2 separate regions of the Homo sapiens genome follow, and region 2 is linked to region 1. Evidence: promoter capture Hi-C in 16 types of primary human blood cells and fetal thymus (Javierre and others, 2016). All regions are on one chromosome and are shown on one strand. The core of a region is centred on a gene start or on the middle of the fragment in contact, and the rest is flanking DNA. Distances in the headings are between cores, read along the strand shown. Region 1 holds the start of PEX10 (peroxisomal biogenesis factor 10). Region 2 overlaps PRDM16 (PR/SET domain 16).

The links. Contacts are between HindIII fragments. The CHiCAGO score rates a contact against its expected background, and 5 or more counts as called.
Region 2: a contact is called between a fragment that was not itself captured here and the fragment with the promoter of PEX10 in region 1, in 1 of 17 cell types (endothelial precursors). The highest score is 6.9, in endothelial precursors.

The regions. Positions count from the first base shown.
Region 1 is chr1:2,411,056-2,414,058 of GRCh38, reverse strand. It overlaps PEX10 (peroxisomal biogenesis factor 10), which reads left to right and starts at 1,495. Exons shown (of 6, transcript NM_002617.4): 1 at 1,495-1,668. The coding sequence starts at 1,557. RefSeq lists enhancers at 526-1,105, 1,106-1,686, 1,687-2,267, 2,268-2,848 and silencers at 770-1,369, 1,530-1,909. The HindIII fragment of the contact is 16,041 bases long and covers 1-3,003 here.
Region 2 is chr1:3,407,216-3,410,218 of GRCh38, reverse strand. All of the region lies in intron 8 of PRDM16 (PR/SET domain 16), which reads right to left. Among named protein-coding and RNA genes, the nearest start is that of ARHGEF16, 46 kb to the left of the region's middle. RefSeq lists an enhancer at 1,181-1,758. The HindIII fragment of the contact is 1,658 bases long and covers 650-2,307 here.

The sequences.
Region 1 (3,003 bases), core at 246-2,745:
GATGCCGGGTTGCCTGGTCCACGGATGAGGGGTTCAGCCCAAGGTGCTCAACCCAATCAGAGGGCAGCCTCTGTGTCCAGGAGACACGGGTGCACCCGCGGGGTCAGAACTCCAAAGGGGCGCGGGGGCGCTGGGAGGTTTGGTAGCCAGAGGGCCTGCGGGGCGGGGCCACCCAGGCCATGCCCCTTCCCTGTAAGAGGGGCCATTCCTGCAGTGTGGGGCTCTGGCTTTGTGACTGGGCTGTGCCAGTCTGGGGATGATCCCACAGCTGAGCTCCTGTAGATGGAACCAGAGGTGAGGCAAGGAACTGGAGGCCCTCCCCACTGAGGTCAGCGGGGCGCAGACGCCCCCTTGTCGTGCCCTGCCTTCCTCCTGCAATCCTGCAGGACTCTCCAGGGCCAAGTGCTGCCCTTGGGGCCAAAAAACAGGGCCTTCTCCTTCACCTGCCCTGCAGCCATTCAGGTATGTACCAGGCATCTCCTGCCCTCCCTGGCCAGGCGGCCCCAGAGGCACAGGCCGCAGACACCGCAGGCGACCTGCGTGGGCCTCCAGTTCCCGCCCCAGCCCTTCCCACCCCCAGCTCAGGGCAGGTCCAGCTGTGGCCAGCGGCTGGGGAAGGTTCTGTCCCCTCCAGGTGTGCGGCCTTGGCAAGTGCTTCAGGCCTCCCTCCGCTCGTCCCCTGGGAGCAGAGGGATCGGAGCGCCTGCGATGTGGTTCCCCAGAGCACCTGCGGGGCTCAGGCCAGGCAGGGTGGAGGGTGGAGGGTGGAAGGCCACCTTCCGCCCGTCCTGGAACCACGCGGCGGCTTCCCGGCTGCCCCCCACCCGCCAGGCCCTGCCTCCCGTGGGCACCAGGGGGGCGTCCACACCAAGCCGGCCGTGTGCTTTTCGCGCAGGATTACTGGGGAAGGCGGCTGCTCGGGGCCTGGAAGGTCCCGGGTCTCGCCTCGTGCCCCTCTGGCCCCCAAACCGACCGGCTCCCCGGAACTGGCCAACCCGCGCTGAGAGCCCGCGCAGCTCAAAGGGCGCGAGGGCGGGACCGCCGCGGCCGGCGCTGGGAGCTCGGCTTCCCGAAGACCCAAGCGAAAGCCTCCGTCTCCCCAGCCGTAAATGGGCCTGCAGCGTCTCCACTCCGCAGCGCTGTCCCCAGTGGGAGGGCGGCCCGTGGACGTGCAGGGAGCAGAGCAGGGGCCCCTGGCAGCGTAGGACCCCGAGGTCGCAGCAACCACGCGGCCGCGAGCCCATCCCGCTGCCTCGCCAGCGCCCCTCGCGCGTGCCCCGCCCCCACCTCGGCTCGCGGGCCCCGCCCCGCTCCGCTCCGCCCTGCGCCTCCGACTACCTTCCCGCTGCCCCGCCCCGCGCTGCGCTGGTTCGGACTCCAGCCCCGCTTCCGCCCGGGCCCTGGCCCCGCCTCCAGCCCCAGTCCGGCCCCGCCCCAGCACCTTGACGCAGAGGTCTGCGCCGCACGCAGAGCCACGTCGTGCCGTCATCAGTTCTCGCCCGTCTGGGCGTGGGCGTGGCCGGCGTGGCTGCTCGGGACCACCCGAACCCGCGGCCATGGCCCCGGCCGCCGCCAGCCCCCCGGAGGTGATCCGCGCGGCGCAGAAGGACGAGTACTACCGCGGTGGGCTGCGGAGCGCGGCGGGCGGCGCCCTGCACAGCCTGGCGGGTGAGGGCCGGGCGCGGCCGGACGTCCTCGCGAGCGGCCCAGGGGGTGTTGCCCCTCATGGAGGCGGGGTGTCTGCCGTGTGTGGTCACGGTCGCCTGGGCCCGTCCCACAACCTGGGACCCGGCAGTCTCCTTCGCCTGCCCTGCGGCCATTCAGGGATGTGCGGGGCACCTCCTGCCCTCCCTGGCCAGGTGGCCCCAGAGGCACAGGCCGCAGACACCGCGGGGGACCTGCGTGGGCCTCCAGTTCCCGCCCAAGCCCTTCCCGTCCCCAGCTCAGGGCAGGTCCAGCTGACGCCAGCGGCTGGGGAAGACTCTGTCCCCTCCAGGTGTGAGGCCTTGGCAAGTGCTTCAAGCCTCCCTCCGATCCTCCCCTGTGAGCAGAGGGGTCAGAGCGCCCGCGGCGCGAACGCCTCATACCTCGGTCCGGTTCACACTGACCCCGGCCTTTCCTAGGCCTGAGCAGCAGCCCAGGCCCCTCGCCCTGCTGACCCCAGTGTAGGCTCAGCCAGGCCCTGCCTGCCTCACCAGGCCGGGAGCTGAGTACAGAAGCCAGTGTACTCAATGAAGCAGCACCTGTCATCCCAGCAGTTTGGGAGGCAGAGGCGGGAGGATCGCTTGAGCCCAGGAGTTTGAAACCAGCCTGGGCAACATGGCAAGACCCCGTCTCTACAAAAAATCTGAAAATTAGCCGGACGTGGTGGCGGCGTCTGTAATCCCAGCTCTTCAGGAGGCTGAGGCAAGAGAATCGCCTGAGCCCGAGGGATGAGGCTGCAGTGAGCCATGATTGTGCCGCTGCACTCCAGCCTGGGCGACGGGGCCAGACCCCATCACCGATTAAAAAACGAAAAAAAAAAGATGCCGGGTGTGGTGGCTCACGCCTGTAATCCCAGCACTTTGGGAGGCCGAGGCGGGTGGATCACTTGAGGTCAGGAGTTCGAGACCAGTCTACACAACATGGTGAAACCCCGTCTCTACTAAAAATACAAAAATCAGCAGGGCGTGGTGGCGCGTGCGTGTAATCCCAGCTACTTGGGAGGCTGAGACAGAATCACTTGAACCCGGGAGGCGGAGGTTGCAGTAAGCCAAGATCGTGCCACTGCACTCCAGTCTGGGCAACAGAGTGAGACTCCATCTCAAAAAAAAAAAAAAAAAAAAAAAGGCAAAGCCATCAAGTCTTTGGGGGGTGGGGCAGGCAGTCGTTAAAGGCATGAACTCCCAGCAGAACGTTTCAGGGAGCAGTGGCACTAGAGCCCAGTGGTGGGGGTGTCGTGGCCAAAGGAACAGTGCCATGGGACAGGAAGAGCATGGGTAAATATCAGAGGACAGCCAGGCT
Region 2 (3,003 bases), core at 229-2,728, 1.0 Mb before region 1:
TCTTGTTTTTCTAAGAAAAAAGGGAGGAACACACACACATCTACACATGCACACACACAGCACACACAACCACACACCACATTCATACACATGCACACACACCACACACACGCACACACACAACCACACACATTCATACACATGCACATACACAACCACACACCACATTCGTACACACACAATCACACACATGCACACACAGCACACACACATGCACACCCCCCACACCCCCCCATGCAAACACACAACCACACCCCCCACACGCACACACACCCACACCACACACATGCACATACACACACACCACACCCACAACCACACCACACACATGCACACAACCACACACATGCACACAAACACCACACACACACCCACACCACACACCCACACACAACCACACACATGCACACATACACCACACACACCCACACCACACACCCACACACAACCACACACACTCACACCCACACCACACACACACCCACACTACACACACCACACAAACCACACACATGCACATACACCACACACACGCACACACACACCACAGACACGCACACCACACACACACATCCCGGCGAGTGTCTCTCTCTGTAGGACAATTTGCTTCCTAAACACGGCGTGGTGGAAACAATGATTTCAGCAAGCTTCTTGCTCACCAGAAATCGTCGGCTGCCTGATCTCCTTCGACTCCAGCTGGGAGCTTTTCCCCTAAGATGATCGTGTTCTTTCATCACGATATCTATTTATATTAACCGCTCTACCTTCCTGCTCGTCCAGCCTGGCGGGGCGTTTTCAAGGCTGAGGGGAGAAGAACTTTGTCTCGTTTCATCAAATCTGCCCTCTCTGGAGGGCTGCTGATGGACAGGTGACCCTCCAGAGGGAGGGTCTGTAAATACCCCTCGGTCACCTACCTGGCCCTCGGGGAGGCACTCAGCCCTGCCGGCCAAACAAGCACACCCTGGCTGTGCCCCACTCACACACTCTCACACCCACACGCACCAACTCACGCGCCCACACTCTCACACACACACGCACCAACTCACGTGCCCACACTCACTCACACACACCCACACTCACACACTCACATGCATCAACTCACACGCCCACACTCGCACTCACAGACACGCGCCCACACTCACGCTGTCACGTGCGCCGACACACGCACCGGCCCACACGCCCACACTCACACACACTGACATGCCCCGGCTCACACGCCAACCCTCACATGCTCTCACACGTGCCAACACATGCACTGGCTCACACGCCCCTCACTCTCATGCGTGCCAACACAAGCACTGGCTCACACGCCCACCCTCATGCGCTCTCACACACACACGCACCAGCTCACGTGCCCACCCTCGTGCTCTCACATCCTCCAACACACGCACCAGCTCACGCGCCCACACGCGCTCACACACACGCACCGGCTCACGCGCCCACACTCATGCACTCTCACGTGTGCCAACACATGCACCGGCTCACGCGCCCACACTCACACACTCTCATGCACGCCAACACATGCACCGGCTCACGTGCTCACACTCACACACTCTCACACATGCCAACACAGGCACCAGCTCACGCACCCACACTCATGCACTCACACACACACCAGCTCACACACCCACACTCACACGCTCTCACACGCACCGACACATGCACCAGCTCATGTGTCCACACACACGCTCTCACACACACACGCACCGGTGCACGCGCCCACACTCACACACTCTCACACGTGCATACTTATTAAAGCAAAGGCTCTTTCTGCAAAGTGCCCAGTGGGAGCCTGTGCACCTCATTCCCAGATATTATACTTCCTCTCTGTCCTGTTCTCCTCTCCTCTCGCTCTACCCACCCCTTCTCTTACACCCATGCACACACACGTTTGTACACAGCCCAGGGCACAGGTGAGCGCCTTGGTGGGAAAGACACCACCAGGAATGACACCCCCTCCGTCTGTGTGGCCAGTGAGGTGGGGGCTTAGGGCTTCCATCTGCCTGTGCCATGGGTGTGTCACCCAGCAGGTGGACACGGAGTCTGGCCATGAGCGCCTGCGCAGCTGTGACCTCTCCTGCAAGCAACTGACCATTCCTGGAAAGGGCCACGCCATTTGGACTCCCTCACTTGTTTGCAAATTCTCCTCTCCAAGCCTGAAGACCCCCTTCTGCAGTTGCACCAAAGGACACTGTGCAGTGGCCTGGGGGATACCAGGGCTGCGTTGCTTGTGTCTGATCTAATTTCTAAGGGAATGAGAATCTTCATAAACCCGATCTGCCCACATCTGGGGTTTTCCTTTAAGCTTTATCCCCTTAGCAAAAAGCCAAGGCACAAAGGTGAGCCGAGTGTGTGGACAAGAAGCGCAAGAGTCGCCGAGGCGGGGCAGGGCCAGTTGAGTTTCCCTGTCCTCACTCCATCCACGAGGGATGGGGAGCAGCCTGCAGTGTGGTGGGAACAGTGGGCTCCAGCTGCCCAGGGTGCTGCAGCTCTTGGAATGCACATCATTAAAGCGATGCAACGGGACTTTAGAACGCTCGTCTGCAGGCCCAGAGAGGCAAGGAAGTTTAAACCTAGGTCCAATTTTCTTGCTCCTGAGCTTGCTATAGAACTCCACGTTGTCATCTGAGGCACCAACTGGTGCCGCTCTCACTGGAGTCACTTGACCTGCAGCTGGGAGCAGTCACCCCCCGCCCCAGCCCCTGACTCCTGCCCAGCTCGCACCGTGCTGGCTTCTCCCAGAGGAAAGGGGTACTGTGTATCGGGGTGCCGGAGCCGGGCACACTGCACACATGCTCCTCCTGGGAGATCGGTGGTCAGCAAATGGGAAAACAGTACTTGTGGAACGGCCGGCAGGCAGAGCTCCATCTCCCTTTGGTTCCTCAGTTGGTGGGGGCATGTGGCCCAGGTTAGGCTGGGGGCGGAGTCACCCCTAGCAGGACGGCTGGACGCTGGGGCTTGGGAGGTGGGTGGGACGGGCACAGCCCAGGTGCTGACAGGGGC